4 separate regions of the Homo sapiens genome follow, and regions 2, 3 and 4 are each linked to region 1. Evidence: promoter capture Hi-C in 16 types of primary human blood cells and fetal thymus (Javierre and others, 2016). All regions are on one chromosome and are shown on one strand. The core of a region is centred on a gene start or on the middle of the fragment in contact, and the rest is flanking DNA. Distances in the headings are between cores, read along the strand shown. Region 1 holds the start of KRTAP9-6 (keratin associated protein 9-6). Region 2 holds the start of KRT28 (keratin 28). Region 3 holds the start of LOC105371777 (a long non-coding RNA gene). Region 4 overlaps LOC105371777 (a long non-coding RNA gene).

Region 1 (3,230 bases), core at 400-2,899:
GTCTGTATAAACAGGGGAAATTCAAACAGGATGCATATAGAGGGAAGATGATGTAAGAGACACATGGAGAAGATAGACATCTACAGGTCAAGGAGAGAGACCTGAAACAGATATTTCCCTCACAGCCCTCAGATGAAAACAACATTGCCAACACCTTTATTTTAGCCTTCAGAACTGTGAGAAAATAAACTTCAGCCACTTGATTTGCCATAGTTTTTAATGGCAGTGTAATGCTTTAATATATATAGTAAATTTCTTGAGTTTCAGATATATTCTCCCTACGCTCTATGGCTTCACGAAAATTATCCCTCATGGAATATTAACTCCTTTATCTACCTGCTGGTCTGCTAACATGAAGGATCCAAAATGAAATGACCAGGTTATAATTGCTGCTTTTGATTATGCCAAAAACACAGTGAAGCAAATTCTATAATTTTTATTTACATAAAAGTCAAAGAAAAAAACAAAACTGACCTACAGGATTAAAACTTGATAGAGTGACTAGCTACCTTTGGAGATAAGTAAAAAGATATAATTTGGAGGGAATGGAATTAATTTCTATTTTGTAAACTGGTAATGGGGACTTAGATGTATTTATAATGTAATATTATATCAAGTTGGAATTCATAATTTGCACTCTTCTGAAATGAATGGTATAATTTAAAAAGTTTTAAACAATGGTAAACCTCAAAGAGGAATCAGATATCATCTCAACTCACCTAATTCCCTCACTGAAAACAGAGAGACAGAGAGAGAGAGAGAGAGAGAGACAGAGACAGAGACAGAGACAGAGACAGAGACAGAGAAATGGCAATGATTGTGCCAGTAACCTGGATTAGGGCTAGAGCCACAGCTCATATTGCTTTGCCTGGACCTCAAGCAGTAATGTCACAGTAATTCCCAGTCCCACATTCTCATGCTGGTAAGCCCCTCAGTCCCAGACAAATCAGGGTGAATGGTCACCGCAGCACGTAGATTGCTTGATGCTTTGTGAATTCCAGTGAACCCCTCCTCTTTCTACGTGTTTGCTTTGGCTCTGCTCTGCCACATAGCACACATTGTGCTGAACACCCTCTTCCCAAGAGGCTTTTATAGAACTGGAAGAGACAGGTAAAGTAGGTTGTACATAGAGAGATGCCTATCAGTCTTGAATCAGACTTTGGTGGGTGAACAGTCTTGGTCCCAAGCATGGATTCAATTCACCACTGTGAATATATCAACATCATGCTTCTCCCCACAGACACTTCCCAGTCTACATACAGCCAAAGGATGAGACTGGGCAGAGAGAACTTCCTGAGCCTCCCCAGTCACCAGGAACTATCACATGACGAGATGCTGGTCAGAGCAGGAACGAAGCTGATGATGAGACTGCCTTCCTTTTATCTGAAACAAAGTTTCTACGAGTAATTTACAATTAAGAAACAGATTAAACCCTTACTTTCCAAAGATTCATAACATTTAGGAAATGACTTCCTCTTTGACAATGCCAAACTGACTATGGAAAACAACTGTAAACAGCAAGAAAGAAAAATCCTGCTGATTGGTGGAAACTTTGGAGGCCACATGTATAAAAGGTCCAGATTGCAAGGGGTCATCAAATCCTGGGAAACTCACCTCTGAACAGAAGCCCACCCTCCACCCCTGACAACATGACCCACTGTTGCTCCCCTGGCTGTCAGCCTACCTGCTGCAGGACCACTTGCTGCAGGACTACCTGCTGGCAGCCCACCATTGTGACCACCTGCAGCAGCACACCCTGCTGCCAGCCCTCCTGCTGTGTGTCCAGCTGCTGCCAGCCTTACTGCCACCCAACTTGCTGTCAAAACACCTGCTGCAGGACCACCTGCTGCCAGCCCACCTGTGTGACCAGCTGCTGCCAGCCTTCCTGCTGCAGCACACCCTGCTACCAGCCCATCTGCTGTGGGTCCAGCTGCTGTGGCCAAACCAGCTGTGGGTCCAGCTGTGGCCAGAGCAGCTCCTGTGCACCTGTGTACTGCAGAAGAACCTGCTACCACCCCACGACTGTCTGCCTGCCTGGTTGCCTCAACCAGAGCTGTGGATCCAGCTGCTGCCAGCCCTGCTACTGCCCAGCCTGCTGTGTGTCCAGCTGCTGCCAGCATTCTTGTTGCTGAGCAGCACCACAGAGGACCATCATCCTCACACAACAACCTTCTGCTCAACTGACCTTTTTTTTCTTTTGAGACGGAGCCTCACTGTCACCCAGGCTGGAGTGCAGTAGCACGCTCTCGGCTCGCTGCAACCTCCATCTTCTGGGTTCAAGTGATTCTCCTGCCTCAGCCTCCTGAGTAGCTGGGATTACATGCCTGTGCCACCACGCCTGGCTAATTTTTTGTATTTTTAGTATTTTTAGTAGTTTTCACCATGTTGATCAGACTTGTCTGGAACTCCTGCCCTCAGGTGATCCACCTGCCTCAGCCTCCCAAAGTGCTGGGATTACAGGTGTGAGCTACCACACCCAGACCCAACTCACTTATCTTTCAGAAGACAGATTTACTTTCAAACTTTACTGATACACAGTATGCTTTCACCAATTTTTTTTATTTCTTTGCCTGTTTAAAATCTTGGGAATCAGCTTGAGGGAGGGCAGAATACTTCATCCTGATTCTTTTTTCCTTACACTTTGTGGATCATGTGCCAGCTTCATGTGTTCTCAATGTGGAGACATGGTCTCCATTCGACTCTAAAGTCAAGAGCTTCATTCTCTCCTTCTAAGAAACTTAGGTTTCTGCAACTGATCAATAATCTTTGCAATCATATTTTTGTTTTCAATTTTGTCCTCATGTTTCTTTTACCCTTCTTTCTTCTTTTCATTGTAACTTTGGGCTATGTCCCTAGTAGCAGGGATTCTTACCTATATATTTCTGAATAAATTCTGAACCATCCTTCATCTCATATGGTGTTTTATTTTACAGAATTGCTGATATGAGATTTACACACATATTGCATGCTATATGTATTATCCAATTTGATTCTGAAAACAGAGTTATTATTATGTATTATTACCTCAATTTTTCAGCTGAGAACAATTTAGTGTGTGATTTTATGTAGCTAATAAAGGACAGACTCTAGTCCAAGGTGAGAGCTTCTCTTTCTGCCCAAGAACACTTACATTTAACTCTCGGTAAAGTAGAAATGATATTGAGACTCAGCAATAGCAAGACATGCACTTGAGTTTATTTAATGTGGGAGGTATAATCTCTCATATTTGC
Region 2 (3,230 bases), core at 520-3,019, 470 kb before region 1:
AAATGTACAGAGTTGTGATTGGACTACAGGTAAAGCTTCTCCTACCTCTTCGTGGTTCTTTTTGAGATATGTCATCTCCTCACTCAGAGACTCATATTGCAGCTCCTGGTCGGTCCTGCAGAGCGTCAGCTCGTCCAGGACTCGCCGTAATCCGTTGATGTCGGCCTCTACGTTTTGGTGAAGGGTGAGCTCATTTTCATACCTTGGGGGGCATTTAAGTGAATTTCAGTGCCAGTAAGACTACCCCAAGAAACAGAAATATTCAATCCCAATTGCTTTAAACTGAAAATTAGAAATTGAATTAGGACTGTAAATAGTATAAAAATATATGAAGAAAGCGCTCCTGCATTACCCCCACTCAATTCTGTACAGGATAATTGGAAGTTATTTCATCACACAAATTCCAATAGCATAACCTAGTTAAATAAAAATACACCATTTTGGAATTTTATTTTAGTTAACGTTTTTCCTTAGTTGACTAATGATTTACTGAGCATCTACTTTGTGCTTGGCAGTATTCTAGGCAGGCAGAGAAATATATTGATATTTTGTCCCAGGAATATAATAACTATGTATAAGTTGATTGTAACATTATAATACAAATCCTTTGCTTCCTTTTATCTTTTAGGTGATAGTTCATTCTACTTGGGATGAAATAGAAATTTTATTTAACAAATTAAATAAATAGAAACTTTTTTCTAGAGCAGGATTTTCTTCTGTCACTTACTTTAGCCTGAAATCATCAGCAGCCAGTCTGGCATTATCAATCTGCAGAATGACATTAGCATTAGTAGTAGTGGAGGAGATAATCTAGAATAAACCAAAACAGAGAACACAACAAGTAAGTATGCTTTTATGTGATTCATTATTTCAGGAAATGAAAAAGGTTACTCAAGTTTTTGCATAAAAATTTCACCTCCTTATGTAATAATCAAAATGTTTCAAGTTTAACTTTTAAAAATTAAAGACATGGTTTTATTTATTCTCATATATTCCCCTAAATTTAGAACTACAATACTTTTTTATTCATATGCCTATGAATGTACTTCAACATAAACAATGGAACTAATAACATTTTAACTACATTAAAATTCATGAATCAAAGGGCCCATTTTTGAATAGTAGGAAGAATTGTTTATCTAAATAAATAAATACAAGTTATAACAGTCATGAAGCATTTCTTATTGTATGTCTTTTGTTAGGTATTTCTTAGTTTTAAATACTTGGGTTAGTTCCAAATCTGTGATTTCTCACCTTATTCTTAAGATCCTCAATTGTTAGGTGATATCTGCTATAGTCATGATCAAGTCCACGGCAAGATCCAGGTCCGTATTTTTCATACCAACCCTTGATTTTTCTCTCTAATTCAGCATTTGCCTCCTCCAGAGCTCGCACATTATCCAGGTAGGATGCCAAGCGGTCATTAAGATTTTGCATGGTCACCTTCTCATTTCCAGAGAGGAGTCCCCCTTCGCTTCCAGCAAAGCCAATACAAGCAGCATTTCCAAGGGCACCACCAGCATGGCTCCCACCAGGAACACTGCCCAAGCCCCCTCCCAAGGCACAGGAAAATTCACTTCCAGCAACAGAGCCACCACATGCACTGCTGCCTGCAAAGCCTGCACCTCCATTGAGGGGTCTGACAGATCCAGCTCCAGACCTTAAGCAAACATGCCTGGATCCATTAGAAAATTGGAGAGACATGGTGTTTTGAGAAATGTTCACCTTGTCTATGCAAAACTGTAATGTCCCAAGAGAACAGAATATCATGCACTGATAATTTCTTTGGGTTTTTATATATCATTATTGGGGCGTTCCTATTTGAGTTATACATGCCAAAAGCAAAATGGCATCACTTAGATTAGCATAAAATTATGTATAATTGGGTGATTTTAAAAATAATTAATGTCTAACATCCCTCGGTGTTGCTTTGGGCTATTTCTTATCTTAAATATAATAGGGTTTGTTCTATATTAAGTTTATTAATTTAACTTCTAATTTTGAGTGAGTAATCCTTTCCTTTCATCTAGACCCTAGGCATATACTGTCATTATCTGGCGCCAGGTATTATCAAATTTTTTATAAAGTTAAGTAAGATTATGATAGAGTTCTGTGAGGTACAGTAGGGTCTCAATTACCATGGAGGGGTATAAAGGACTGCTAATTACAGAAACAGATATTTTATCCCACCAGAAAAAAATGTGTTATTTAGAAAACAGAGGCTAGTGACATCTCTGTTCTTACCATGATTATAACATCTATTTATTATCTTGGACAATGACACAAATATTGACCTATTATTTTGTTTAAAATAGCATGGTTATGATGTTTGGTGCTCTATGCTAAGTGCTAAAATGAAAGACATAGTGTTAACTAAATGCAGAAGTGAAAAATGCGTGATTACAATCTTTAAGAAATCTATTGTCAGGTCCAGACAGGGGCTGGATCATGGTTAGCTTTCTGTGCTGGTCTAAAGAGTTTGTAATGAATCCTAAGTAAAAAGCAGAGGGCAAAATGATCAGGTTGAAATGAAACAAGGTGGTCAATTACAAGGTTGGAATAATGGTCCAGGTGAGAAGGATGAAGGCAGTGGGGATGCAGAGAAGATGGCTTTGAGAGCATATGGTAATATGATTGAATTTGGAGAGTAGGGAATAAGGCAGAATTGGGGATAACTCTTAGGTAATTAATTTTAGATTCTGGGAACTCATAATATTCACTGAGATGGGGAATAGAGGAGGAGGAAGACACTGAGTTTAGGTTTGGACCAACTGGATTTGAGGGGTTGCCAGAATGTTCCAGATGAAGGTGACTGATAGCAAGAATGACTGTTTAGAATATGTATACTGAACTGGAAAAATACTTGACTAGCAATGAGTAAAAGAAAATTGGAGGGTCCAGCTCTCATTTATAATGATGTTCAACTGCATATTTGGAAGTAATCCTGGTGCAGGAATAGAAAGGATGATGATCAGATTGATGTGGGTTTTGGGATTTGAAGACAGGTCCAGAAGAAGGAAATAGTGGCAAAGAAATTTCTGGTGTTCTTGAGAAAACAATTGAGGCGATTGACTGTATGATCATATAGCAAGAAGAAAGTAAAACCAGAGGGACAGATGGACTGAAGAAAAGGGCAGAGGGTGAGTCATTGGGTATCCTTATGAGGTCATGGAGCAGGCGGAGTGTGAGGAGGAGATTGATAAAGGTGAAGGATGACAGGCTAAAATTGG
Region 3 (3,230 bases), core at 206-2,705, 410 kb before region 1:
GCTTGCCTTTATAAGTGAATATCTACAGATTTTTTTTTCTTATAAATACTACATGGAAACCAAGTTACTCTATGTTTTGAAAGCAACTTCTAGTACTCTTTAGATGTATGGGAAAAAGTCCTCAGGTTAATTTCCTTAAGAAAAAGCGTCATGAATTAAAAGACTGCTTGTTGAAACTGAAGATCACTTTCTACTGAGTCACCAGATATTGAGCAATATGATTTATATCAATATGCCTTGTGAAATTGTCAAGTTAAAGATTGTACATATTAGATAAGAAAATTTTGTGTCCCTATAGAGTGACAAGTATCTTGAGGGTTTTCTGGAAATATTGAATTCAACAAATATCTCAGTAAAATGCAAACAACTTCTTGATGGATTTTTTAGTCTCAAACAGCCAGCCTAATTCCTTTATTAAGATTTAAGGAGAAGGAAGTAAGTGGAATTCAATTTCATATGACGCAAGCATATTTTAAATAGAGTAACCAAAACAAATAGATTCAAATGGAATCTATGCAAACCATCCTCTTTGCTTCCTTTGTGATGGACACTCCTTAGCTTCTGCGCCTTAATAAGGTAGGGTTTGTTCATTCAGTCTTTCCAAAGATAAGTGTTGGAAAATTTAGAGTTAATAAATCAGTGGATAAAAATTCAATGACTATTTCAAGAAAATAATAGAAGAAATATATCGCCACCATTCAATGTTTGTGCAACCAGTGTTTATTGAGTGCTTTTAATGGTACCTAGAGAGTAATACAGGTGGTCAAGCACAGTGGCTTATACCTGTAATCCAAGAACTTTGGGAGGCTGAGGTGGACAGATTGCTTGAGCCCAGGAGAGTAATACAGGCATTATTCCAGCTTTTACTGAGTGAATATTCTAGCATTTGTACGTAATTCTGTGCACAGGTATTCAACAAGTATTGATTGTCTCCTATGCAGTAGGGTATATGTGCTGTTTTATGCACTGTGCTAGATGCCAGGGCTACAGTGGAGGGCAAAACAGACATGGCCGCTGCCCTTAGAGAGAATGCAGTGGTAGAGCCAGACATTATTTCAATATTCATACAAATAAATGTATAATTGCAAATTGCGCTAAGAGCTGTGAAGGATAACTACAGTATAGTATGAGAAGGTAGAATAGGAGAACCTGACTTGGTTAATGAGGGGCATTTGAGTTAGGACCTAACTGGTGACTAGGATTGTTAACTAGGCCAAAATGGGGGTGGAGGCTCATTCTAGGTAAAGAGGGAAAGTTTGTGAGAAGCTGCCAGAGTGGGAAGGAGCATGGCGTTAGAATTTACTTGACTGTAGTATTGCTGTCACTCAGTATATGTATATCAAAACCTCATATGCTGTATATCTTAAATATATACAAAAATAAAGTAAACAAGACCAGTAGGTTTGGAGAAGATAGAGGGGGAGAGAGGGCACACGATTTGAAAGAGGGTAGAGGGGGCCAGGCCAGGCCATACCTTGCTGGGTTTTGGTCTTTATTCCAAGGACAATAGGAAGCCTTTGAAGGCCTTTAAGCAATGGAGTGACTGGATCAGCTTTTTCAAAATGATCCCCCCAGCTCTGGTGGAAAGAGTGGAAGAGAGGTGGGTACAGGTGGAAGCTGTGTGGTCAGCCAGGAGAGAGACATAAATAGTGGCTTGGATGAGGAGGCAAAATACCAGATATGGCCAGGATATGTATAGGTATCTGTTGAATGAATGAATAAATAAATCTAGGGTCAGGAGACTTGGAGCTTGACCTAGTTAAAAAGCTACAATTGAAAGATTTTTAGATCAACATTGATAGAGGAATAATTTTTCTTTGATTGTTTAGTTAAAGTTCAATTTAACTGAAAGGTAAAAGCCAGTTAAAATAATGCTTTATTATTTGATTTTTTTTTCTGACAAAATGAAACATAATTTAAATGATCCATAGTGATCCTAAATAGATTTTTAGTTCAGAGATAAATTATCATAAGGACATAAGATGTTTGGATATATGTGTATAGCAAGTGTTTTATGATACATATTCTACATGTTGGGAATGTAGTTTTATATGATTAAGTTTTCAGAGTGCCAATGCTTTGGAAAGTGCAGCTAAAAAGTCTCCCTGTGGACAAATTGGCAAATAATTGTGTAACCTGCTACTTCAGCTTTGTGTCTTTGGTGTTATAATATTATATTGTCCTTTAGCTCCTCAGAAATGATCTCCTCTTTAATGCAACTGTTACCTGTGTACCCTGGAGGTGACAGATAATCATGATAATGATGACTAAAACTTTCATCAGGTTCTCCTCCCTACTGAGACCTTCCTTTCCCTTGAGCAGTTCTTGTCTTCCCACTGGCCAGCGTTCAGTTCTATCTCCTTCAGCTCTGCAAGCTGTAAAAACACCTTCCATAGTCACACAGGGGAACTGAGTAAAATTCTCCTAACTTCACATCACCTGAAGGACTTTTTCTTACCCCTAGCCTCTGAGTAATAACACTGAGAAGGACTTCATTGTTGTGCTTTCCTATAACACCACTGCTGGATTCTGATTAGCCTGGATCTAATTCTGTAGTACTAATTTTTGTTCCAGGATTATCTCTATTGGATGCTGATTATATATATTTGTATTTTTTAAATGATAAACATTTATTTTATTATTTGTCAGCCTACTCAGTCATATATTAGATAGGCTAGGGAAGTTTAACATTAAAATTATCATCCAGAATCAGCACATAAGGCTGTTTAAAATGGGTATCCAGTGAAAACACCGTAAAGCACCTTGGGAGGTACTTTTTATCCAATGTAAATTGTAATATACAATGTAAAAACTGTATGAAACTTTATCATGTATTTGCCTTTAGATCATAAAAACTGAGGTTATTTTCAATAGACTATGTAGAGTCTTACATATAGTTGGTGCTAAATAAAAGCTTGTTGAAGGAATTGAAGCCATCCTCACAGAATTAAGAATTCTGGGCAGAAATGTAGTTATAATTAAGCTTTAACCAGGCTGCACTTTGACCCACTTCCTTGTAACTAAACATCACATAACCTTAGATTCTGACCATTTGCATCCCCATTGTTCCTGTAGATAGAAATTCTAATGTTAGAACCATGAGGCTTTTGTTTAAGAATTGCTTAAACGGATCCTGAATTACTGTGGAACTGCTAACGCCAACCAATTTAAAGACTCCCACAGACAAACCAAATGAGCATGAGAGTACAGTTTCTTTCTCTCCCTGTCCT
Region 4 (3,230 bases), core at 299-2,798, 350 kb before region 1:
GGGTTAGGAGGTTTAAGGGAGATAATTGAAAACCTGGTTATCTCTTGTTTTAGTAGTGGTTCTTTGCTGCTGTACATGTAACACAAACTACTTGAATTTCAAGATGCTACCATCCCTTGGGCATGAATTATGAATGTTTGATATTCCTTGATTCCATCACAGGACTTGTATGGTTGATCTTTGTCCAACCCGAGCCTTGGATCAGGAAAAAGGATGAGTTCGGGTTTATGTTGCCCTATAGCCAGCAGGGGGTGTTCGTGGCCTTCCTATTCCAAAAGGCCGCAGCACCCTCTCCCAGGCTCCGGGTGAAACTGGTTTGTGAGTCACCATTACCATCCTTCTTTCTCTGTTCAAATTGGCATTTTACCAAGAACAGCATTACTTCTGAGTGAGCAACAGCTGACCAATTATCTTGAAAAATATTTGGGAAGCTATACAATTTTAAAAGTGAAAAGCAAAATATATCTTCTATTTTTAACTTGTTCCCTAAACATGAATTACCTGGGGGAAAAGCAGATGCTTTTCAATCTTTTAAATGATTGCACCTATTCTAAACCATCCAGGTGTTTTTGAAATGACCCACAGTCATCTTTAATAGCATGCGAAGGGGCCAAGGCCCTCTCAACTTTAGATTTAATAGCCTGCCCCCTTCAATTGTCAGAGATATTGACAGAGATAGGCCTGACTGTTCTGCTGTAATTTCAACTCATTTTCTCCTGCTCTAATATCTATAGTACGGGATGGACTTTTTTTTTTTCTTTTCTGTAGAGGCCAGGTCATAAATATTTAGGCTGTGTGGGCTGGAGAGACTGTTGCAACTACTCAACTCTGCTGTCCTTGTGCAAGAGCAGCTGTAGACAATATGCAAACAAACGTTCATGACTGTGTCCTAATAAACTTTATTTGTAATTTGGCCACGCCCTATCTTATTGATAGCCCTCCAAAACGTCAGTATCTTCCATATATCTGTTATTTTATGTTGTTTATAAACTCAAACTCTTCTCCGATTAAGAGGAAAATAATCGAATCTGAAAGTCCCTCAGGTTCAACTCCTTTCCCAATGCCTGGTCCCCCTTATAACACTCTTGACAAGCATCTTTGCCCACTGCTCGGAACTCTCATGCTTTGTGTCTTCCCTGCAACACAAGCAGTGGCCCCGAAGAGCAGACAGCGTGATACAAATGCACAGAAGTTTTTAAGGAGATAGCACAACAATTTAGAAACTAAGGCTGCTGGAATGATGAGCTTTTAATCTTTTCATTCATCGCAGGGTTTAATCCATATTTGAAAAGAAAGATGCCACAGTATAAAGCTGACAGGCACTGACTGGCCTGAAATATCTCAGGAAAATCTGGTTTCAGATTTTTCTAGGAGTTGATCCAAGAACATTTTTCTTTCTGCCTTTTGATCTGTTGAAAGATCCACAAGATACTTGGATGCCTTGAAGACATAAATGCCAGTACAGAAATAAACTCTGACGAGTTGTCTTGTAAAGGGAGCCAGCTCTTAGAGAAGGGATCATTGTAAGGGTAGGAACTGAAACTTTTTTGTCTACTACCTGACATTCTCAAACCCTTCTTTCCTTTGTACTTTTTCTGTGAACAGATGGTTTCGTCCAGCTTGGAGTGGGTTTAGGGGAGACTGAGAAAACAAGACGGCTGCCTGCAGTTTTAGTCTCTCTTTACCCATCTTAAACTTTTTCTTCCCCTCTCCATTTTTGAGAGCAAGAGGTTACATGCTCCCTTTCCTCCTGTAGAAGAAACATTTAGCTGGGGCTGACACAATGGCGAGGACATGAGAAATGACCACAGGAGAAGCCCTGGAGGCAGAAGACTAGGTCTTTGCCCCTTTTACAGTGAGATAGTTTTATATAAATATCAGAGGTTACTGGAGGCACCCAAACAAAATTGAGGACAGGAAGCAAATATCTGAGAGGCTCCCAAACCTCGATGTACTGTGGGACCCAAACGAGCACGTGAATCCCTTCTAGATATCCTTTGGATCCTTTAAGAGTAGCACAGGCGGGGCGCGACGTTTCACGGCTGTAATCCCAACACTTTGGGAGGCCGAGGCGGGCGGATCACGGGGTCAAGAGATCGAGACCATCCTGGCCTACGTGGTGAAACCCCGTCTCTACTAAAGATACAAAAATTAGCTAGGCATGGTGTCATGTGCCTGTAGTCCCAGCTACTCGGGAGGCTGAGGCAGGAGAATTGCTTGAACCTGGGAGGCAGAGGTTGCAGCGAGCCGAGATCGTGACACTGCACTCCAGCCTGGCGACAGAGCGAAACTCTGTCTCAAACAAACAAATAAATAAATAAATAAAGAGTAGCAGATACCACTTATAAAGTTTTATTATAAAGAATTATTGGAGTTGGCTATGAATTCTCCTCCTTACTCACGTCTGGTGGGGCAAAACGGGGAGGATCAGATACTATGAAGACAAAGATACTGGAAATAGATCAAAGCCTTGAATTCCCAGCCCCAGACTCTACCCACCATGATCCCTACCTGCAGGGGTCTGGGTTCCTCTTGCCCAGCCTGCTCAATCTCTGACCCCCTAGCATGGGTCTCTGGCTTGCTCAGAGGTGCAGGCTCCCAGCTCCCCTTCTCCAGTCGCCTGAAGACTCAGTGGTTCCTCTCTGAAGGATGTAGTTTTAACCTTTGTTTGCTGTAAAAACATATAGCAGGCAAGTGCTTGTCACAAGGGGACTTATTTCTTCCTTCTGCTTCATGTGATGGGGAGGGTCCGGCTGTGGATATCTGCTGTGCTAAGACAGCCACAGTGTGGTCTAAGACAGAGCCTGGTCTTGGCCACTCTGATATCTGGCTGACTGAGAGACAGTGTGGATGGGTGGAAGAGGGCAGTCTTGCATGCTGTCATCTCCTCCCTAGGGCCCTATTGACCTTTGGTGGATCCACACTTGAGGTGTGGACAGAGGAGAGAGACAGAGAATGCCTTGTCTCCTGTAGAAAGGCCTCTTCTGGAAACTTCCAAGCACCTAACATTGTAGGAGGAGAATAGGAGACTGAGAGAGAAATATAAAAAGCCATGTTCCCACAGTAAGCTCTCCTACCACTGGCTCAGCCTCCTGTCCATTTGGGAATGATTAGAGATGCTACCTCCTTCCTCAGGGCTGCCAACTACAAGTGCGCAGCCTCCCCCAACTCTTAGCACTGTAGCCAGGTGTAGTTATAAATAAACGTTGGGGTGACTTATCCTTGTGTGA

Evidence for each region. Contacts are between HindIII fragments. The CHiCAGO score rates a contact against its expected background, and 5 or more counts as called.
Region 2: the fragment with the promoter of KRT28 here is called in contact with the fragment with the promoter of KRTAP9-6 in region 1 in 3 of 17 cell types (neutrophils, M1 macrophages and M2 macrophages); the score reaches 5.4 in neutrophils.
Region 3: a contact is called between a fragment that was not itself captured here and the fragment with the promoter of KRTAP9-6 in region 1, in 1 of 17 cell types (monocytes). The highest score is 6.1, in monocytes.
Region 4: a contact is called between a fragment that was not itself captured here and the fragment with the promoter of KRTAP9-6 in region 1, in 6 of 17 cell types (total B cells, M1 macrophages, M2 macrophages and 3 more). The highest score is 10.2, in total B cells.

Annotation. Positions count from the first base shown.
Region 1 is chr17:41,263,729-41,266,958 of GRCh38, forward strand. KRTAP9-6 (keratin associated protein 9-6) reads left to right here and starts at 1,650. Exons shown (of 1, transcript NM_001277331.1): 1 at 1,650-2,132. The coding sequence starts at 1,650. The coding sequence ends at 2,132. The HindIII fragment of the contact is 5,841 bases long and covers 1-3,230 here.
Region 2 is chr17:40,798,190-40,801,419 of GRCh38, forward strand. It overlaps KRT28 (keratin 28), which reads right to left and starts at 1,770. Exons shown (of 8, transcript NM_181535.3): 1 at 1,255-1,770; 2 at 728-810; 3 at 46-202. The coding sequence starts at 1,704. It overlaps LOC105371776 (a long non-coding RNA gene), which reads left to right and starts at 3,145. Exons shown (of 4, transcript XR_934753.2): 1 at 3,145-3,230. RefSeq lists an enhancer at 1-948. The HindIII fragment of the contact is 3,919 bases long and covers 34-3,230 here.
Region 3 is chr17:40,850,285-40,853,514 of GRCh38, forward strand. It overlaps LOC105371777 (a long non-coding RNA gene), which reads left to right and starts at 514. Exons shown (of 3, transcript XR_934754.3): 1 at 514-576. The HindIII fragment of the contact is 2,913 bases long and covers 1-2,912 here.
Region 4 is chr17:40,909,217-40,912,446 of GRCh38, forward strand. All of the region lies in intron 1 of LOC105371777 (a long non-coding RNA gene), which reads left to right. Among named protein-coding and RNA genes, the nearest start is that of KRT20, 26 kb to the left of the region's middle. The HindIII fragment of the contact is 4,061 bases long and covers 1-3,230 here.